Linked DNA regions of Homo sapiens: regions 1 and 2 are each linked to region 3. The links are contacts of gene promoters, found by promoter capture Hi-C in human tissues and cell types (Jung and others, 2019). All regions are on one chromosome and are shown on one strand. Each heading gives the region's core, a stretch centred on a gene start or on the middle of the fragment in contact. The rest is flanking DNA. Distances are from core to core; before and after follow the strand shown. Region 1 holds the start of KLHL26 (kelch like family member 26). Region 2 holds the start of FKBP8 (FKBP prolyl isomerase 8). Region 3 holds the start of CERS1 (ceramide synthase 1).

What was found. Contacts are between HindIII fragments. The study calls those that stand out against the background at their distance.
Region 1: a contact is called between the fragment with the promoter of KLHL26 here and the fragment with the promoter of CERS1 in region 3, in 2 of the 25 tissues and cell types used here (dorsolateral prefrontal cortex and mesenchymal stem cells).
Region 2: a contact is called between the fragment with the promoter of FKBP8 here and the fragment with the promoter of CERS1 in region 3, in 3 of the 25 tissues and cell types used here (IMR-90 fibroblasts, dorsolateral prefrontal cortex and lymphoblastoid cells).

The regions. Positions count from the first base shown.
Region 1 is chr19:18,635,653-18,638,688 of GRCh38, reverse strand. KLHL26 (kelch like family member 26) reads right to left here and starts at 1,661. Exons shown (of 3, transcript NM_018316.3): 1 at 1,552-1,661. The coding sequence starts at 1,634. RefSeq lists enhancers at 708-1,222, 1,223-1,737, 1,696-1,990 and silencers at 1,477-1,986, 2,037-2,196, 2,207-2,286, 2,327-2,516. The HindIII fragment of the contact is 11,173 bases long and covers 1-3,036 here.
Region 2 is chr19:18,542,323-18,545,680 of GRCh38, reverse strand. FKBP8 (FKBP prolyl isomerase 8) reads left to right here and starts at 2,108. Exons shown (of 9, transcript NM_012181.5): 1 at 2,108-2,195. RefSeq lists a silencer at 1,863-2,292. The HindIII fragment of the contact is 12,332 bases long and covers 1-3,358 here.
Region 3 is chr19:18,894,577-18,897,757 of GRCh38, reverse strand. CERS1 (ceramide synthase 1) reads left to right here and starts at 1,600. Exons shown (of 8, transcript NM_021267.5): 1 at 1,600-1,934. The coding sequence starts at 1,686. GDF1 (growth differentiation factor 1) reads left to right here and starts at 1,600. Exons shown (of 8, transcript NM_001492.6): 1 at 1,600-1,934. RefSeq lists a silencer at 2,550-2,599. The HindIII fragment of the contact is 24,852 bases long and covers 1-3,181 here.

The DNA of each region.
Region 1 (3,036 bases), core at 412-2,911, 260 kb after region 3:
CCCTAGCCCCAGGTTATCCCACTCCAGTGCCCAAGGCAGGGACCTGGGGTTCACTGTCCCTCTTCCCTGTCCCTTACTTGCCAACTGATACCCAATTTTCAAGCCCTGGCCACTCCCTGAATATCTCTGAAAATCCTCTGACATCTCCTGGCTCCCTACTGCAGGACAATCTTGCCCCACACCTACCCCAGGAGGCTGGTCACCCCTCTGGACACACACCTCCTGGGTTCCCCATGGCCCCTCTGGCAGACCAGATTCAATGCCCACAGACCTAAGTCTCAAGGTGCCACTCAGCATCCTCAGGAACAGGCAGGGCCTTTGCCTCCTCTGTGCCCTGGCCCAGCCATCCCTCCTCCCTTCCCCACCCATCCCATGCGTGTTCCATTCAGTACCAAATCACACAGCCAGGCCATCAGGCCATTCCCTCCAACAATCAGCCCACAGGTCCAAAACTCCACAGCACGTAAGTATCAAACAACTTCATCATTTATCATGTTGCCTGAAATTACTGGCTCCTGGAAGCTCACCAGCAAGAAAAAGCCTGAATTTCCTCCTTGGCCTGACCTGGGTGCTGGGCTAGAGGAGGAGCTGGGGTGGGAGGGTCTGGCTTTGCCCAATAGGAAAAGAGCAGGAGATCACACTCCTAAGGCAGGTGTTCTTTCCCTCTGACAATCCAATACAATGCATGCACACACATATCATTAGTTATTGATGATAACTAATTGTCATGCAAACCTGGACGTTCAAGCAATCCATGTCAGGACTGGGCCATGGGGAAAGGGGGCCTCCCTCTGACCAAAGGGGTGAATTCTGTCCCCTTGTCTGAGGGCAAGACCTTTCTGTAAGTCCTTTAGCCTGTTGGGGATGTGGATTTGGACCCCATGGGGATGGAAGGGAGGAGCCCCAAAGAAGAACCCTCTGTATGTTCTTTATAAACCCCCTGGAGTTCTCTCACCCCCCTCAGGTTCCCTAGACCCACCCCAGGCCCCCTCAGCCTCCCCATCTCAGACTCCCAGATTCACCTAAGTCCCCCACCCAGAGCCTCCCACAGTCTCTACTCCTTCCAGCGCCCCTCAGCACGCTCTCAGGACCACCTTTAGCCACCTTGGGGCCCTTCAGCACCTCCCAGGATGCCTTGGGCCTTAGCCCCTTCCTCAGAGCCCCCAAGACACCTCACCACCCTCAGACTGGCCATGGCATGGCCCCTGCTCAGGCCCTCTCTGCTGCCCAGGCCCTTTGGCATCCCCAGTTGCCCCACGGCCCACCACAGTCAAGAGCCCCTCGGTTTCCCTTCAGACCCCCAGGATTCTCAGGTCCCTAGGGCCGCCTGCAGACGCCTCGAGGTCCTGGGGCACCCAGCCCCCCTCCAGCCACCCCCTCAGTAGCCCTCGGCTCCTCCAGTACCCCACGGCCCCGTAAAGTCCAAATTCTCAGCGAAAGACCCTCGAGCCGTGCCAGGCCTCCCCTCAACCCCTCAGGACGCCCAAGACTGCCCACAGGTTTCCTGGGCTCCAAGACAGGTGCAGGTCTATCCTGCGGGCCGGGTCTCACCTGTTCGGGCGCTCGGGGCCCGGGCCCGCGCCGAAAGCGCCGCCGCCACCAGCACCACCGCTGCTACCGCCGGACTCCGCCATCTTCCCCCCGCCGTCGCGCGTTCGAGTGACGGGAGCCGCGCGCGCAGGCCCGGGAAACCGAGACGCGGGGGGCGGGGCGGGGCCAGGTCTGCGGAGGGGCGGGGCCGGGACCAGAAACCAAGGATTGGGGCGGGCCCGGAATCGGAGGGGCGTGGTCTACGGAGGGCCGGGGCGGGTCTGGGATAAAGGGAGGGGCCTGCTATGCAGAGAGGTGGGTCCAGGGCGGGGCCTGGGCTAGGGGTGCCGGATTGGGGCGGGACCCTGGCGTGAGGGGCGGAACCAAGTCTGAAAGGGAAGCGGTTCTGGGCTGAGAGGGCGTATTGTCTGTGGATAGGTGGGGACGGGGCGAAGCAGGACAAGTAGGCGCAGGATGGGGTTGGTCCCTGGGCTGAGGAGTGGGGCGGGGTCTGAAGAAGGGGCAGGCCCAGGGCAAGAGGAGGAGGGACAAGGGTCCGGCCTGCGGAGGAGGCGGGGCGCAGGATAAAGGGCGGGGCCAGGTGTGAGAAGGGACAAGGTGGAGGTTAGGAATGCGGTGGGGGAGTGGTCGGGGAGGTAGAAAGGAGAAGATGGGTCTGAGGTTGGGCGGGTCTGGGCAGGAGAGAGGAGGAATCTGGGGATGGATGTGGTCAAGCGAAGAGAGGGCCTGGTCTGAGGAAGGGCGGGGCCTGGGCGAGGGGTGGAGTCTGGTTGGAAGGAGGGCGGGGAAGATCAGGGGTGTGTGCGTGGAGGGGGCGAGGGATTGGCGGGGCCGGGGGGGCGGAGCCTCATCTGATGGGGGTGGGGCCGGGCTAAGTGAGCGGCGGATCTGAGGAGGGGCGGGGCACGTGCAGGTGTTAAGGAGTGTCTGTGAGTGCCCTGGGGCGCTGGCAGGCGTGCCCCGGGCGTTGGCTGGGCGTGGTTATACTTTGAGGCGTTGGAGCCACAGGGAAGTGAGTTATAGGTAGGGTGGGAGGGAGGGTGAGATGGAGCATGGAGAAATGGGTCTCTAAGCTCTGAGAACCACACCCTCCCTCTCCCCACCCTGCACACCCCGACTCCAGTCTTACCTCCTTCCCAGGCCTCTCTCAGGGGCGAAACTCACCCATGCCCAGGCCTCAGACTTCCAGCCCCTCATGGTTCCCCACCCTCCCCTGACATACCCTCTTCAGAGCCTCCACCCTGAGACCCCAATCATCTGGCCTTAGGTTCCCACCACCTGCTTCATACACCAATTCTGGTTTCTCATACTCTAAAACCCTGCACATCCAATTATCTCCCATTCTCTACTCAAAACTCATCTCCCACTCCCCCAAATCCCTGCCCACAGATCCTTCAAACCTTACACTCCCAAAGTCCATTCCACCGGACCCAACACCCTCAGATCCCCAAGCACCAGCCCTCCCAACACACTGACCCTCAGCCA
Region 2 (3,358 bases), core at 859-3,358, 350 kb after region 3:
AAAAATACAAAAAATTAGTCGGGCATGGTGGCAGGCGCCTGTAGTCCCAGCTACTTGGGAGGCTGAGGCAGGAGAATGGTGTGAACCTGGGAGGCGGAGCTTGCAGTGAGCCGAGATTGCGCCACTGCACTCTAGCCTGGGCTACACAGCGAGACTCTGTCTCAAAAAAAAAAAAAAAAATTAGCTGGACATGATGGTGCACCTGTGGGCCCAGCTACTCAGGAGGCTGAGGCAGGAGGATTGCGTGAGCCCAGGAGATAGACATGGTTGCAGTGATCTGAGATCGTGCCACTGCACTCCAGCCTGGGTTTCAAAGTAAGACCCTATCTCAAAAAAAAAAAGGCAGAGATATAAGTAAACTAGTTTGGGAAGCCGAGGCAGGCAGATCATGAGGTCAGGAGTTCCAGACCATCCTGGCCAACATGGTGAAACCCTGTCTCTACTAAAAATATACAAATTAGCTGGGCATGGTGGCGGGTGCCTGTAGTCCCAGCTACTCAGGAGGCTGAAGCAGGAGAATCGTTGGAACTTAGGAGGTGGATGTTGCAGTGAGCCGAGATCGCGCCACTGCACTCCAGCCTGGCGACAGAGAGAGACTCTGTCTCAAAAAAAAAAGAGAAAGAAAAAAAAAAAAAAGGCCAGGCACGATGGCTCATGCCTGTAATCTTTGGTACATCGAGGTGGGCGGATCACGTGAGGTCGGGAGTTTGAGACCAGCCTGACCAACATGAAGAAATCCCGTGTCTACTAAAAATACAAAGTTAGCCAGGCATGGTGGTGCATGCCTCTACTCCCAGCTACTTGGAAGGCTGAGGCAGGAGAATCGCTTGAACCTGGGAGGCAGCGGTTGCGGTGAGCTGAGATTGCGCCATTGCACTCCAGCTTGGGCAACAAGAGTGAAACTTCTTCTCAAAAAACAAAAACAAACAAACAAACAAAAAACCCAAGTAAACTAGTTATGAAGTGGACGTTCATCAACTTCATTGTGCCAAGACAGCTAAAGGGGGCACCTGGTCTTGCCTTGGGGAGGTTGGGAGGGCTTCCTGTAGGAGGTAACCTGGGAACTCCAACCTTAGAAGTGATCTCCAAAAAGCCAGTTACCACCTCCATGATAGCTACCTCCAAAAGCTGGTGTCTGACTCATCCATCCATCCATCCATCCATCCATCCATCCATCCATCCACCTACCCATTTATTGAGCTTCTATAGATGCCAGGCATGGTTCAAGGAGGTGCTGGGTACAAATCAGGTAAAAATCTCTGCCAGGATGAAGCAGAGTGAGGGATGGTCCCTCCAACCACAAGCAAAATAATGACAAGATAATTCTGGAAGGAGTAACTGCTAGGAAGGAAATAAAACTGAGTGAAGGAGGGAGAAGTGTCCCGGTTTCAAAACAAGATCCACAAAAACTTAGCTAATCAAGGATGCCACCTTCTTCCCGAGCCATGGGGACCTTATCACCCTCCAGCAGACAGTGCATAGAGGAGGAACTCCTCCCAGTGGCCCTGCTGGCTCAGTCGCCTGCGCAGCAGTAATCGAGCGCCTCCAGTATGCACCAGGCAACCTTCTAGACATTAAACTGTGTGGGGGATGGGAGGGAGGTTTCTGTATGCCTTTGGGCACGTCACTCCTCCTCAGGCCCTCAGGTTCACTTCTGTAACTAAGGCTTCAGGATGGGTCATTCAGCAACCCCAGAGCTGCCCTGCCCGTCAAGCTTGAACTCTTTAAGGAAATAACATTTAGAGTGGACTGTGCCCCCAGCAGCCCCCAAGGTGAGAGTGCATAGATGGGGGTGTTTATCCCCATTTCGCAGATGGTCAGGATGAAGCTCAGAGGAGAGGCAGGAGTCGCACAGGCTGCGCGATACTGACCCGTGTTGGGGTCCAGCCCAGGGTCCCCCGCCCCCGCCCCAGCCCCCGCCCCAGCCCCCGCCCCAGCCCCCGCCCCAGCCCCAGCAGCCGGGAGGCTTCGGTCCCTTTAAGAACGCCCCGCGGGGCCAAGCAGGAAGGGGGAGGTGCCAACGCCCGGGACGGACGTCTGCATGAGCCAACGGGTGCGGCAGTCGCGGCAGCGGCGGCCAATGGGCACGGCAGGGGCGGGGCCAAGCGGCCGAACCTGGTTCCCGAGGCGCGGCGGCCGCGGCTGGGGGCGGGGAGGGGGGCGCAGGACCCCAAGTGGGGGTCCCGGAGCCAGAGGCAAGTGTCCTGGGGTGCTGGGGGCGCCGTGCCGGCCGGGCCGCTGCCCTGGCCTAGGCTGGTCCGGGGGCTAGCGCGCCGGGGGCTGCGGCCGATGGGCGGGGCGAGGGGCCGCGGGGGTGGCGAGCCGGGGGGGCACGGGGGTCGGGGGTGCCCGAGGGGGCGCGGCCGGGCGGGGGTGGCCAGGGATGGGGGTCACTGGGGGCAAAGGGGATCCAGTGGGGGGGTCCCGATGGAGGCGTGCAGGGCCAGGGGCGCCCGAGGCGTGCGGGGGTCGGGTGCCCCAGACTGGTGGCGTCAGACAGGCGTGGGTCGTTGGGGGCCTGGGTCGCGGCTTGACTGAGGGCCCGGCCGGGGCTGTGGGGCGTCAGGAGAGCGTGGGGTGTTATGGGATCGGAAAGGGGGGGGCGTCTGGGGACACTGGAGTGTTTACGGCGAGACGGAGCGGCTGTGGGGGGAGCTGGCCCGTGCTGGGGGCGGTGGTGGTTGGGGTGGGGGGTGGGAGGGGAGGCCGAATTGTGCGGGCGCGGGGAATTATGGGGGTGGGGGCTGGGAGGGTCTCTCAAAGTGGGGCTCCGAGCCCGGGAGGAGCAGGCAGGTGAGGGTTAGGGAGGGGATGCGGCGGGCTGGTTTGATGGCTGTGCCACACTCTTCTGAGCTTGGGGCCTGGGGGACGGAGGGGTTGGTTATTGGTTCAGGAGGTCTGGGGCAAGGAAGAGGCTGTAGAATGTGGTGGGACCTCGACCACTCCTGGAAAGGAGGCTGCTTTGAGGGGGTGGGACCGAGGCCTGATGAGAGGAGGATGGTCTCCTGGGGAAGGATTTGGGCCAGGGTCCCTGATGTTGGGGTTGTGGGGGATAGTGTTAGATTCAGAGTGTGGAAGGAAAAAACGCTTGGGGTTTCTGGGTGATTACAGTTGGTGCTTTTGGGGAGGGTCTCCCCTTTGGAGAAGAGGCTGGAGGTGGGAGGCCCTGGTAAAAGATTCAATTTCCCCCAGTGGCCTTAGAGGCTCTAAAAATGGCTTCCCTAAGGCCTCGGAGGCTGTCCTCTCCACAAAAATCCCAGCACCCTTCGCTCAGCTTATAATCAGGCAAAGCCACAGGGCCTGAAGCCCCAGGTTCAAATCCTCCTTTGGCCTTTGGCTTTCTCTGTGACCTTGGGCA
Region 3 (3,181 bases), core at 351-2,850:
GACATGAGGGGCGTGTGACTTCAGAGTCGGGGGCAGCCTGAGCAGGTGGCAGAAGAGCCATGCAGGTACCTAGGGGAACAGCATTTCAGGAGGGGGGAACAGCTAGTGCAAAGGCCCTGAGGCAGGACAGAGCTTGGCATGTTGGAAGAACAGCAGAAAAGCCCACAGGCGGAGGGAAACAGGGCGCTGTGAGGGCAGCCAGTGAGGACTTGGGCTTTCCCTGAGTGGAACAGGAGCCATAGAGGGCTGCAAGCAGACGAGGAACAGGCCAACAGCGTCGCAGCCACCTTCTCACCTCTGTGGGGTGAGGAGGAAGCCAGGATACCAGACGGAAGAGGGTAGTGGTGGTAGTGGTGGTGGTGGCGGGGAGCGGGGGGCAAGGCTGTGCAGATGCAGAGAAGTGGCCAGATGCAGGGCCACCTGGATGTGTTGTGGGGGACTCGGTGTGGGGCAAGGGGAAGGTGTGTTCACCTGTGCCCCTGAAGTTCAGGTGCAGGTGTTCGGGAGCCAGCGCGGCTGCTGCAGGACTCATCCCTGCATCCTGCACCTTGAAGGCCAGGTGTGGGGACATCCTGCGGGCTAGGATGGAGGGGGGGTGCAGCAGTGCCTGGGGAGATGGCGGTCCTAACAGAGGTGACCAGTGTCTTCCTCGATGGCCTTCAGTGGCTTTGGGCACAGGGCCTTGTCAATGAACAGTGCATTGGAAAGTCACTTATGGTGGTCCCAATGATGTCACAGTCGATCCAGATTGGGAGTCCCTCCCACGTTGGCACCCACTCCTGCAGCCTCTCTGCAACTCATGTATTAACCTGATGTTGGGGAGCCCCCCCCCCGGGTTCCCCAGGGTCACAGCAGCAAGTGACCCTCAGAGAACCCCCTAATCTCAGCAGCCCCCATCACACCTTTGTCCCAGTAGCCCGCTGTGCAGACCTGCAGAAGAAGATGCCTGGGAAGTGCCCAGGGTACCCGCGTCCAAGCTGGAACCCCATTGCCAAGCTCCTGGTGTAGGGCAGAGAGCTGCGTCTCCACTAGGTGCGCCTCCCAACGCCCTGGCGTGGGCCGTGTCCTTTTGAAGAATGAGAATGTTTCATTGAGCCTACGCCTCCTGAATGCGGGAGGGCCACGGGATGGTCCCAAGACTGTGCCAAGGCGTGCCAGGCCTCGGGTCCTTGAGAAGGAGCGAGGGCTCCAAGAACGGTGAGGTCGGAGCGGGCCGGGGCGATGGAGCGGGAGCGGCGTGGCGTGCTGGAGGGCCGGGAGAAGCGGGGGTCGCCAGTCGAGGGGACTGCCTGCTAGTGTCCCCCGTGCCCCCCGTCACGGGCACGGCGCGGTGGGGTGGGGGAGCGGGGGGCGCGCGGGGCAGGCATGGGGGCGCGACACGGCGGTGCGCGGGGTCTCTCGGGGTCCAGGTCCAACGGGCCCCCAGCTCCGGCCCCCGCGCCTGGGTTTCTCTGCTGGGAAACGGGCAGGGGCGCGGGCCCGCCTCCAGGGCGCCCCGCGTCCCCGCTGGCCGCCCCCCAGCCGCGCCCCCAGCGGGGCGGAGCTTGCGCCGGTCCCGCCCCTCCGCCCTCCGCTCTCCCGCCCGCGCGCCCCCGGCCCAGCTGCGGCGCGTGACGCGGGGCGCGCGGCTCCGTCGGCTACCGCGGGCGGGCGCAGGCGACGGGCACGGCGGGCGAGCGGGCGGTATGGCGGCGGCGGGGCCCGCGGCGGGGCCGACGGGGCCCGAGCCCATGCCGAGCTACGCGCAGCTAGTGCAGCGCGGCTGGGGCAGCGCGCTGGCGGCGGCGCGGGGCTGCACGGACTGCGGCTGGGGGCTGGCGCGTCGCGGCCTGGCTGAGCACGCGCACCTGGCGCCGCCCGAGCTGCTGCTGCTGGCGCTCGGCGCGCTGGGCTGGACCGCCCTGCGCTCCGCGGCCACTGCGCGCCTCTTTCGGGTCAGTGTGGCCGGGGGCCGGGACGAGGGGACCCCGGACTGGGGGAAGCCGGGACCGGGGACCTGGGGCCGCCGGCGCGTTCCTTTCTTCCAGCGCTGGCTGCTGCGGATGAAGGGGTCGCCGGAACGTGGGTGGGGGCCTCGGGCTGGAGAGGCCCAGGACGTTGGAGCCCCAGGATAAGGTCTCTCGGGCCGCCGCGCGCCCCCTTCAGACAGTGCTGCGTGGGGGAACCGGGTAGATGCGGGGGTGTGGCCGGGCTGGGGTGAGTCTGGGACATGGGGGGCCCGAGACAGGTGGGATGTTTGAGACGTGGGGGACCGAGGCACGGCCCTTTCCGGTCAGTTTGGGACCAGGGGGCCCCGCGCGGTGGATGGCTCCGGCCACCGCGCGCTCTTTCCGGCAGGGCCGAGCCAGACACTGAGAAGCCCAGGACCGGGAACGGGAGGGCTCGGCGCACCGCGGCCTGCGCCATGCGCCTCCCTGCCATGCGGGCTGCGCCCCGGCCCGGAGCGAGGTCCGCTGCCCGTTTTCTGCTGGGTCCGTGCGGCGGCGGGGCCGGCTTGCCCGCTGTAATCGGGAAGAGGCAGGAGCTGCCCGGTCGCTGCCTTGTGCCTATCTGGGGTCAGCGCCACCCTCCGACCAGGGATGGCAAGGGCCTGGGTGCTCTGGCCACGCCAGTGGTCGCTCCCTTGGAGGTGACATGGCCCGGGGCTTCAGGGTTGGACTGTGCTGCCTCCAAGAGGCGACAGCAGAATTCCCCAGTTTCTGCGGAGACCATCGCCCCTGCGAGAGAGTGACCATGATGGTGACATTGGCGCCTGACCCCACTCACTTCCCTGGGGAGGGGTCGCTGTGGCAGGAGCTGGTTGGAAGGTGTTTGGGCCTTTAGCTTGGCCTGGACACCCCCGTGGACCAGCTGGTGTCACCCCGCCCGTCTGGCTGGAGGGTGCAGGGACAATGTGCCCAGCGCCAACAAAGGGGCCTTTCTCTGCTGGCCGGGAAGAGGCTGGCCCTTGTGAGGTCGATGATGGGATGTTGTCTGACTGCCACTCTCCCCACTCCCGTCCCCATATCACCCACATGAGGGAGAGACCCCAGCCACACCCCTACTGTGGGAGGGGGAGACAGGGCTGTCCAGGGCCCCTCCCTGGGTCCGCAGTGGTCTTTATCCTGCTTGTTGCCCCTGCCTTCTTCCCAGTTTCCAGCTGGGAAGCCCGAGACCCAGGAGGGCAAGCCGTCCCCCACCC